2 separate regions of the Homo sapiens genome follow, and region 2 is linked to region 1. Evidence: promoter capture Hi-C in 16 types of primary human blood cells and fetal thymus (Javierre and others, 2016). All regions are on one chromosome and are shown on one strand. The core of a region is centred on a gene start or on the middle of the fragment in contact, and the rest is flanking DNA. Distances in the headings are between cores, read along the strand shown. Region 1 holds the start of APBB1IP (amyloid beta precursor protein binding family B member 1 interacting protein). Region 2 overlaps APBB1IP (amyloid beta precursor protein binding family B member 1 interacting protein).

Region 1 (5,796 bases), core at 1,810-4,309:
CTATTCTTTTCTTCATCTGATCCGTTCCCCAAATTATGCCAGAGTGATTTTCCTAAAGCATAAATCCCATCATTTGCCAGCTTAAAATATTATTTAATATATTCTCATTGCTCTTAGGATGAGAAAATAATTCTTGACATAGTCCACATGACCCTACATGGTTTGCCCCTACTGACCTTACCTCTAACCAGACCTTCCATAACTCCAATCATACTGGTTTCCATTCAGTTTCTAATCCCTCTGCCACTCCCTTACTCCCATCCCATTTCCCAGCCCACCCATCAGCAAATGCTATTGGTTCTACTTTGCTAGGTGGTTGTTTGTTTGTTTGTTTAAATAGTCTTGCTCTGTTGCCCAGGCTGGAGTACAGTGGCATCATCATAGCTCACTGCAGATTTGAACTCCTGGGCTCAAGCAATCCTCCTGCCTCAGTCTCCCAAGCAACTGGAACCATAGGCATAAGCCACCATACCCAGCTAATTTTTTCCCCCATTTTTGTAGAGATAGGGTCTTGCTATGTTGTCCAGGCTAGTTTTGAACTCATGGCCTCAAGTGATCCTACCACCTTGGCCTCCTAAAGCACTGATATTACAGGCATGAGCAACTGTGCCAAGCTTTGGTTTTATTTTGAAAACTGTATCTTGATTCCAAACTCTTCTCACCATATCTACTGTTAGAATACTAATAAAGCTACTATCATTTTTCATCTGGACTCTGACCATAGTCTACTGAGGAATCTCTCTTCTCTTGCTTCAATCAATTGATTTTCTGAACAATCACCAACTGGCAGGATGGCTTATCGCTTAAGTCAAATCATGCACTCAGTTGCTAAATACATTCCAATAGTCCCCCATTGCAATTAGAATAAAACCTAAAGTCCTCAATGCTGGCTACAAGGTCCTGCTTGTTCTGGTTCCTGCTTACCTCTCTGTCCCCATCCACTATTGCTGCCCTACTCTTTCAGAACATTCCAGGCACACTGGCCTGCCTTCTTTTGAACTTTCTATGTTCCTATCTCAGCCCCTCTTCTTGTTCTTCCTTCTCTTGGAATCCTTTCCCAAGTTTCTGAATGGCTGCCCCTTCTCATTACTTTGTAAAGAGGTGATCCTTGACCACTTTCCCTGCCCCAAGAAAGTCACTCTCATTGTTTGATTTTATATTTTATGTAGCACTTACAACTCTGCTCAGAACCTTCCACTGGCTTTCCATCTCACTCACATCAAATTCTCTTCCACAGCTCCCAAATAGCACACAATCTGGGCACCATTTCCTTTTGATCCCATCTCATGTCTGTCCCTCCCATCTCACTCTGCTCAGCCGTACTAATTTCCTTGGTGTTTTTCCAATATCTTAAGTGCTCTCCTAACTCAGGGTCTTTGAATGTGCTGTTCCTTTTGCCTGGAATATTCCCATCTAAAAACCCAGTGTGGATTAATCTCTCATGCCATTTAGATCTAGCTCAAGTGTCACTTATCAGACAGAAATACCAGTTTCAGGTGTTTCTGTCTATTGGGAGACTGCCTTTCCCTGGTGCTATATTAAAAAAAATTAGGATAAATAAATAATAAATAAATAAATGAAAAATACATTTTCTCTTCCTTATGATTTTATTAATAACAGTTTCTTTTCTCTGGCTTACTTTATTATAAAAATACAGTATTTAATATATATAAAATAATATGAGTTAATCGACTATGTTATCAGTAAGGCTGATAACAACTGCTTGATCATCACCTGATGGTCACCTGACATTCCTGGTAGGGGGTGGGAGGAGCCCTCTCCTGCCCTGCTCATGCCTGACTAGCTACCTACTGTAACAGAACAATGCCAGATTTCAGGAGTACCAAACTGCTGCACAATTGAAAATCCATGTATGTCTTTTGACTCCCCCAAAACTTAACCACGAATAGCCTACTGTTGACCAGAAGCCTTACTGATAATATTAAACAGTCAATTAACACATATTATGTTATATGTATTTAGATAAATACTGTATTTTTACAATAAAGAAAGCTAGAGAAAAGAAACTGTTATTAAGAAAATCATGAGGAGAAAATATATTTTCTATTTATTTATCGTTTATTTACCCTAATTAATACAGCAACCCCATCCCCATGCCCATCACTCTCTATCCCTCACCTTTTAACTTCCTTCAAAACTAGTTACATTCCTTGACATGTTAAATATTAATTTGTTTATTGTCTGCTTTCTACCAACTAGAATGCACCATGCATGAGAGCAGAAATTGTTTCCTCTAACTATTTTCATTGTTCTTAGAAGTGTTGGTGCTTACGAATAGTTTCTCATTAAATAAATGACAGAACTATTTGAAATTGCCTAATTAACACATGCACCTAATTTCTGTCTTTATGTCTTCACCACCTTCCCTGACATATAAGCCTTTGAAGACACAGCTGTAGAGGAGAAGGGGAGGGTTATTCAACCGCATTTACAAATCATAACTGATTTTAACTTCTGTATTTTCAGACCTCCCCAGCGACTTTCTCTCAGGAAACTCCACTCCCAACTGACAGGTGCTATTTCCAGCCAGTCCTATGCTGTTGCAAATAGTGAGTCCATGAATGCCCTCTGCCGTGTGCATTACTTATTTTCATCAGCAGATCTTCGTAACACACTCCTGGAAGTGGGATGACGGGGTCAAAAGGCGAATCCATACATAAGTTAAATAGATATTGCTCAATTCTCTTCCACGGGGTTCAGACCATTTTGGATTTCTACGAGCAATGAAGACAGTGCTATTCCTCTACACCCTGGCCGGCCAACTGAGCGTGGTTAAACGTGGGGAGGGAGGAGGGTGAGGTTACCAACCTGATGGTTGAGAAAGGGCCTCCGCCCAGCGCGCCCTTCCTCCACCCCCACCCGAGAGACAGCTGAACTCCGGCCGGGACGCGCGTGTTGCCAGTCCAGCCCTGCACCGCGTCCCCTGAGGGCGGGCTGCAGGCGGCCGGGAAGCCTTGCACAACCGGCCCAAAAGAGGAAGCCCAGAAAGTGCTGAAGTAAACACTTTGGGAGACCGTTGCAACATAAAGCGGCCTCTCAGTCTTTGGTGGAACCATCACTAGGCCCCAATCCCTTAGTCCCTCTTGCGTCGAGGCTGCAAAATGGTTCCATTCGCCAGGAGACGCTCCTGAGAGAAGGGCGCGCGCGGCACAGGTAGGGGGAGGCGCAACGTTTCCCAGAATTAAAATAAAATAAAATAAAATAAAATAAAAATCCCTTCAAGGTGGTTGTGTAGTAGGGGTGGGATGGGGGAGAGAAAATCAGGCGCAGACTCGATGAGTTGGAGAAAGCAGCCCCTAACTCGGAGTCCTTTACGCATATGTTTGTCTGTCCCACTGTCTCTAACCAGGGGCCTTCCTTGCACCTCGGAGCAAAGCAGCTCGGATAGCGCCACACGTCTGCGCGCTGCGTGGGAAGGGCAGGGCTGACAGCACTTCCTCCCCGGGGCAGCGACCTGGAGCCCGGGTGCGGCAGTCTGCACCGCGCGTCGCTTTCCCGGCCGGAGTCTCGCCGCCTTCCCGCGCCCCGCAGCGCCCCGCAGAGCAGTCGAGGTAAGTGGCGCTCCCAGTCCCGGGAGCCCTGGGAGCGCCAGCACGGGCCCCTCGGGGCTGTCAGGAACCCGTTTGTCAAGCCCGTCGGGTCCGACGCCGGGGGCAGCTCCAGGATCTGGCCTCGTGAACGCGTGCCCCCAGGCGTGGCCCTCGAGCGCAGCGGGTCCCCAGGGTCCCCTCCGCTGATCTCCACTCTGGACCCGGCTCGCGAGGGTGGGGGTGTGAGGGTTTGGGGTTCGGGTTTGCTTTTTCCCGAGCTATTGCAACAGATTTGACAGATTTCCTGCCCAGGAAATTGCTGCAAGGTCAAACGGGGAACTGCTATGAACCCTTGCACGTCCAGCAGGTCAGCAGGTCAGCAGGTCAGCAGGTCCGGGAGCCCCAGTCTCCCGGAACCTGGAGGGATTCTTGAGGGGCCAAGATTAGATGTGGATTAAATGCCAGCCGTGTGAGAATTTGAGTGTGGCTCGCAGTCTGATGCATCTTAGAGTGTTTCCTTCCTCTAAAACTTTTGGACAACTCTTTCCTCTTTTTAAAAATAACTTTTTCCCCCGAATATTCTCATTTTCATTTTAAAATACCATAAAGATAGATTTGGACACCAGGCACAAGTTTCATAATTTGGCTTGAAATGAATATCCAGAGGGCCTTTTACAGAATGGAGGAAACTAACTAGGGTGTCCTAATGTCTCCAAGAACCTCTGCGCAGGTGTTCCACCAAAGACCTAGCCCGGTGTACCTCTTACTTTCCTGCTAAGGTATTTCTTAGTTCATACCCCTGTGGAACGTGAAATGTGTTTCCTAGACACTCAGGGCATAGCGGTTCAAAAGAACTTTTAATGTGATCCTTGACGAGACGGAGTACTAGAGGAAAGTAACAAAAGAAAAGGGCCCGTGAGTTTATTATGCCCCCAGATGTTTTTTTCTGGTGGCATAACGTGGTTTAAACAAAGGTGCCGGTACTAGCTACTATTCATTTTAAAATCTGGGTCTCCAGAGAGAAATTTCAGAAAGGAAAACTTTGTCCTTTTTCATAAACCTAGAGCAGCGATTTTCCCTCTGGCCTCACTGGAATAATGGGTGGCACATGGGCCAGGACGATGATGCTGGCTGGCGAAATTAGCAAGGATCTGCTGAGAAATACTTTATAAAGTCTTCTAGTGGTATTTCCTGTCTGCTCAACGTGTGTTGTGAAAGGTCTAAGAAATTTAACTTCATCCTTAAACTATTAATAATGTGTGTCCTTAAACTATTAATCCTTAAACTATTAATAATTACTAATATTTGGGTTTTTTCTCAGCACTTGGGAGACCTGGGTTCTGGCTCTTATATCTCCCCCATCTAGATAAGGATGATATTGATTAACTTGCATAACTTCTCCCTGGACTTCAGATAACGTCAGTAAAGTGAGATGATTGGGCTACATTATGTCTGTTCTTAAAATAGCAATTGAGGAGTTGCTATAATTCTTTGAATTGGTCCCAACTGGAATACTGGCAACATTATATCAACATTAGAATTGCTGATCACAAATTTTTTAAAAATGGAGAAAATAATCATAACCATAACAGATTACATTCTGAAATATCAATATCTTTGAGGTCTTTTGTTTCTGAGAAGTTCCTGTAAAAGCGCAGTCAATATCTGGCCTATATGTAAAAAGGCAAATTTCCATCTTATTTGAAAACTGAGATAAGAAACAGCCCAAACTTGAACAGGTCAATATTATATTTTGAAATCTTTAAATTGCTATTTCTCAAGAAATATAACTTTGTAATATGAATTACTTTATGGCATTACTTTAAATCTTAAACACAATACTAGGTTTTATAGTATTTATTACATTTTTTGTATTTTTATATCCTAAGAATGTTCACCAGTTATCCACTATTGATTTGCCTTTTTTCACTCATCAATCAAAGTTTTAAATAGTTCCATATTATTATTAGAATGAGCTACTTATAAAGTTCATTGCCATAAATGTCTGTTTGATATGTCACTTTGAATTTTCTTTAAGCCATCTTACTTCCAAAGAGCATTATTATTTTCATTTTCTTCTAATTCTCTTCAATTTTATTTTAATTATTTTTATGCCTAAAACATTTTAGTGAGTCCACAAATCTTATAATAAATTGTCTGCGTTCCATAGCCTATTGGACCACAATCTTTACAATTTTATAGGACCCCATGAGTTTATATTATGGAGACTACGGTGATCTTAGGA
Region 2 (5,796 bases), core at 1,387-3,886, 91 kb after region 1:
AAACAAGTCGTGCATGGCGGCGTGTGCCTGTAGTCCCAGCTACTCGGGAGGCTGAGGCAGGAGAATCGCTTGAACCCGGGAGGCGGAAGTTGCGGTGAGCCGAGACCACACCATTGCACTCCAGCCTGGGCAACAGAGTGAGACTCTGTCTCAAAATAATAATAATAATAATAATATCAATTTATCATAAAAGGAAAAGTTGGAAAATTCAGAAAAATATAAGGAAGGAAATCTAAATCACCCATAATCTCACTCTTTAACAATAATCACTATTGATATTTTAGGCAACTTTTATTCCACAGATTATTCTGTTTCTTAACTGAAATTTGATGATGATTATACTCTACTGGTGGCTGCATGAGTGAGGAGCAGAGACAGAAACACAACTTCTTTGCCCAGGTGTAGAAGTGTCTCAGCCACAGCCTGGCAGCTATTGTGGGAGAAAAGTATTAATACCTTGTGGCATCATTCTTCCATTCCCTTCCAGCCTCCCTCAGCCCACCAAGGGCAGTCTCTGACCATCCAGGACCAGGTGTGGTTAGAAGGAAAGTTATACAGTAATCACCTTTATGGTCCCCAGCATGGGCTAATGTGTTAAAGGAAGGTCTACCCATGACTTCGGTGCCCTGGATCCTCTCACCAGCCAGTGTGGGCGTGTGTGATTAGTCAGTGTATTGATGCATGAAAGGCAACCTTAGAGGCCAGGCATGGTGGCTCACACCTGTAATCCCAACACTTTGGGAGGCAGAGCAGGAGGATCACTTGAAATCTGGAATTCAAGACCAGCCTGGAAAACATAGTGAGATCCCAGTTTCTGCAAAAATCAAACAATTAGCTGGGTGTGATGGCATGCACTTGTGGTCCCAGCTACTCAAGAGGCTGAGGTGGGAGGATCATTTGAGCTCAGGAGTTCAAGGCTGCAGTGAGCTATGATCCACTGCACTCCAGCCTGGGCAACAGAGCAATACCTTGTCTCAAAAAAAAAAAAAAAAGAAAAAAATACTATCTCAGAATCCCACTGGTTTGCAGAAACAGACATTTCCTCTCTCCAGGGTCTGCAGGCTCCCTGTCCTTAGCTCCAGAGTATGACTTAGACTTAGATTTAGGTAGGTCCATGTCTTTTTTTTTTTTTTTTTTTTTTTTGAGATGGAGTTTTGCTCCTGTGGCCCAGGCTGGAGTGCAATGGCACGATCTCGGCTCACTGCAACCTCTGCCTCCCGGGTTCAAGCGATTCTGCTGCCTCAGCCTCCCAAGTAGCTGAGATTACAGGCATGTGCCACCAGGCCCGGCTAATTTTGTATATTTAGTAGAGATGGGGTTTCACCATCTTGGCCAGGCTGGTCTCGAACTCCTGACCTCAGGTGATCCAACAGCCTTGGCCTCTCAAAATGCTGGGATTACAAACATGAGCCGCTGCGCCTGGCCCCACGCCTCTCTTATTGTCCCTGGATAGCACAGAACTCTGACATATTCTTCCCACGGTCAATGGGAAGAGTACAGGCAAATGACAGAAACACACTCTGCACCTCAAGCTCTCTGCTTAGAATCCATGCATCGTCCCATCTGCCACATTCTTTTGGTCAAAGCAAGTCACATGGCCAAACCCAACGTAAGTGAAGCAAGGAAATAAGCTTCACCCATTCTGGGGGAAGTTACTGCCCAGTCACCTGACAGCGAGCAGAGAACTGGGAGCGATGGTCTGATCTTCACTCAGTGAACTGCATTAACCCCATAGCTCTAGCCTGACTGGCTGCTCACTAGTGCTCCAAAGACACCTCTGTGCCTTTGTGCATGCTTGTTCTCCTCCCTGGAAATCTATTCTTATTCTTTTTTTCCCTACCAGAACATTGAACAGCTTTCAAGGCCTCGTTCAAACTTTGACCCCCTCTGTAAAGTTTTTCTTGACCATCGCAGTCCATAGTAATTTCTTCCTTCCTGAAAATCTCTAGACTGTGGCTCATTTTGAATTTTTGTAGTCTCTTATATCTTCCCCATTGACAGATATAGAGTCATCTGTCCATCTCACTATGATCGATCTGTATTTATCTTCTCCATGTGATAGCAACCTTCTTAAGAACAGGGATTTGAGGCCAGGCATGGTGGCTCACGCCTGTAATCCCAGCACTTTGGGAGGCCGAGGCAGGTGAATCCCTTGAACTCAGGAGTTTCAAACCAGCCTGGGCAACATAGCAAGACCCCATCTCTACAAAAAATTTAAAAATTAGCTGACCATGGTGGCATGTGCCTGTAGCCCCAGCTACTTGCAAGGCTGAGGTGGGAGAATTGCTTGAACCTGGGAGGCGGAGGTTGCAGTGAACCATGATCACGCCACTGCACTCCAGCATAGGTGACAGAGTGAGATATGTCCCTCCCCAAAGAAAGAACAGGGATGTTTTACATGTATAAAGGGTACTCACAAATATTTCTTCACGAACTGATAACTGTTTGCTTGATTTACTCTTTATTCCAAGAAGATTTTTAAAAAGTATTTGCTGTTTCTTTCCTATCCAGCTGTCCCCAAATGTTGCACTCCCAGAAGCTGTGAGAAAAGAGAGCAAGCTATGACCAAGAGTCTCATTTCCCATTTTAAAGTTCCTTTATTATTCGACTCAGGTTTACCCAGTTTCCATTTGCAGGATATAATGACTAAACGTTGAGTTCTGCTCACTACTTCTACAGAACAGCCCGCATTGAGTGGGCGCCCACACCGCAGGTGGAAGTTCCGATCCGAAAGCAATCAGTCTTATTATTCTAAGAATTATTCTTATTCTAAGGACTGCCCTCCTCCAGCACAGATTTGCTTTGTGTTTTTTGCTATTTCATTAAAAGAAAAAACAAAAACAGTGTAGCATGGTCACTTAGAAGGATATTCTGAAGCTGAAAAAGTCAGAAGTATGTCAGAGAAAGTTCTCAGAGAAAGGTACAGCTATACATCCTGCCTCTTTAGGGCACCCTGGTGAAATGTGGCCCTTCACAGTTTAGACAGGTTCTTCCCTGCAGAGGGTGACAGATGCTCTGTCTTTCCCAGATAAGGATGATGACAAACACTTGCTCTGGAGTCTTTTTTTTTCTTTTAATTTTTCCTTTTTCCTGAGATGGAGTCTTGCTTTGTCACCCAAGCTGGAGTGCGGTGGGATGATCTCAGCTCACTGTAACCTCCACTTCCCAGTCTCAAGTGATTCTTCTGCCTCAGCCTCCCTAGTAGCTGGGATTACAGGCGCCCACCACCAAACCCAATTAATTTTTGTATTTTTAGTAGAGACAGGGTTTTGCCATGTTAGCCAGGCTGGTCTCGAACTGCTGACCTCAGGTGATTCACCCACCTTGGCCACCCAAAGTACTGGGATTACAGGCGTGAGCCACCGCACCCGGGTTTGGAGTCTTCATTATGCTCTCTGTTCATGCTTCCAGTTCATCATACGTGATTCAAATATCTGGCCTTCCTAAGCCAAGGTTTGCTTTCTAGCAGCACCTTGAAATCACTCTTGTATGAATGGGCGAACTCATATTGGGTCACATCTTTTGTTATTGTGGAAAAATATATGTAACATAGGACTTATCATCTTAACCATTTTTAAGTGTACCCTTCTGTGGTATTAAGTACATTCACATTGCTGTGCTAGATTCTCCCCTATGGTACTTAAAGCTTTTTTTTCTTTTTCTTTTTTTTTTTTTTTTTGAGACGAGGCCCCCACTGTGTGACCCAGGCTGGACTCAAACACCTGGGCTCAAGTGATCTTCCTGCCTCAGCCTCTGGAGTAGCTGGGACTACAGGTGCATGCCATTATGCCCGGCTCTGTACTTAAGAGTATTTTAATGCTGAGAAAAATTATTTAATAACTTGGCCAGGTATGGTGGCTCACGCATGTAATCGCAGCACTTTGGGAGGCCGAGGCGGGCAGATCACAAGGTCAGGAGATCGAGACCATCCTGGCCAACATGGTGAAACCCCGTCTCTACTAAAAATACAAAAATTAGCTGAGCGTGGTAGTGCGTGCCTGTAATCCCAGCTACTCGGGAGGCTGAGGCAGGAGAATTGCTTGAACCCAGGAGTTGGAGGTTGCAGTGAGCCGAGATCGCGCTACTGCACTCCACCCTGGCGACAGAGCAAGACTCTGTCTCAAAAAAAAAAAAAATTATTTAATAACTCAACGTTCTGCCACTAATCGGCCTTGGGAAAATCACTTAATCCTCTGTGTCCTCATCTGTAAAGTAGCAATAGCAATGGTACCTATGTTACGGGGTTCTTGTGAGGATGAAATAAAATCGTATCTGTAAAGCCTTAGCATAGGTTTCCAGCAGGTAGAATATGTTACCTAATATGGCTAGTCGTGGTCTTCAAGCAAAACATTTAAGATTTAAATAGTTTTCTGAATTCTATATTGTAATTGCACTAATTCACAATATAACATCCTTTCAAATAACAAATAAAAGTTTAAAAGTCTTGGAAAAACATATTAAAATAAACTTCTTTTCAATAAGAATTACCAAAAGAATTGTACTTGGCCAGGCGTGGTGGTTTATGCCTGTAATCCTAGCACTTTGGGAGGCTGAGGGGGGCAGTTTGAGACCAGCCTGGCCAACATTAAAAAACCCCATTTCTACTAAAAATACAAAAAGTTAGCTGGGCATGGTGGTGCACACCTGTAATCCCAGCTACTTGGGAGGATGAGGAAGGAGAATCCCTTGAACCCAGGAGGCAGAGGTTTCAGTGAGCCAAGATTGCACCACAGCACTCCAGCCTGGGTGACAGAGCAAGACGCTGTCTCAAAAAAACAAAAAAAATTGTGCTTGACTTATTTCCTCTATTTAAGTTAGCAGCCAGGCGCGGTGGCTCATGCCTGTAATCCCAGCACTTTGGGAGTCCGAGGCAGGCGGATCACGAGGTCAGGAGATCGAGACCATCCTGGCTAACATGGTGAAACCCCATCTCTACTAAAAATACAAAAAATTAGCCGGGCGCGATGGCGGGCGCCTGTAGTCCCAGCTACTCGGGAGGCTGAGGCAGGAGAATGGCATGAACCTGAGAGGCGGAGCTTGCAGTGAACCGAGATGGCGCCACTGGACTCCAGCCTGGGTGACAGAGCGAGACCCCGTCTCAAAAAAAAAAAAAGTTAGCAAATCACCTTTTTTATGCATTGTATTTCAAGGAGATATTTTAAACTTCTACATTTTATTTGTCTGCAGTTTTTTTCCTTTCTGTCCAGTACACTTGATTCTCAAACTTCAGCATGACCAGGCATGGTGCACATGCCTATAGTCCCAGCTATTTAGAAGGCTGAGCAGGGGAGATTGCTTGAGCCCAGGAGTTCAAGGCTGCAGTGAGCTATGATCATGTGACTGCACTCCAGCTTGGGTAACAGAGCAAGACCTTGTCTCTAAAGAAAAGCCAACGATAAGAAAAACCCAAACTTCAGTGTGCATAAAAATCATCTGGAAAGCATATTGGAATGCAGATTTCCAGGCCTCATCCCAGAGATTCCAGTGTAGCCCAGGAACATGCATTGTATCAAGTTTCAAGGTGGTCTGAGGATTATACTTGGAGAAACACTCCTATGGTGTAAACACTTGTGCCTAGATTCAGTAGGGTCCTTAATTTAGTCACAGTGCTTCTGAGATACATTTTCTGCCTTTAATACATTTGTTATGTATTATTTTGTAAAACTCCGTGTTTTTACATAAAATCCTCAGCACTCTATGACAGTGGTCACTCATTATATTCACGGTGCATATGGATACCTCAGCTGCACTTATTGTGTAAAATTAGTCCTTGAGTGCTCGTGATTTTTTGGAACC

Evidence for each region. Contacts are between HindIII fragments. The CHiCAGO score rates a contact against its expected background, and 5 or more counts as called.
Region 2: a contact is called between a fragment that was not itself captured here and the fragment with the promoter of APBB1IP in region 1, in 10 of 17 cell types (total CD8 T cells, naive CD8 T cells, non-activated CD4 T cells and 7 more). The highest score is 8.7, in total CD8 T cells.

The regions. Positions count from the first base shown.
Region 1 is chr10:26,435,282-26,441,077 of GRCh38, forward strand. APBB1IP (amyloid beta precursor protein binding family B member 1 interacting protein) reads left to right here and starts at 3,060. Exons shown (of 15, transcript NM_019043.4): 1 at 3,060-3,174; 2 at 3,371-3,572. RefSeq lists enhancers at 2,377-2,906, 2,624-2,753, 3,314-3,393. The HindIII fragment of the contact is 5,297 bases long and covers 613-5,796 here.
Region 2 is chr10:26,526,567-26,532,362 of GRCh38, forward strand. The region is part of intron 8 of APBB1IP (amyloid beta precursor protein binding family B member 1 interacting protein); the gene reads left to right. Among named protein-coding and RNA genes, the nearest start is that of LINC03028, 50 kb to the right of the region's middle. RefSeq lists a silencer at 2,899-2,948. The HindIII fragment of the contact is 2,015 bases long and covers 1,630-3,644 here.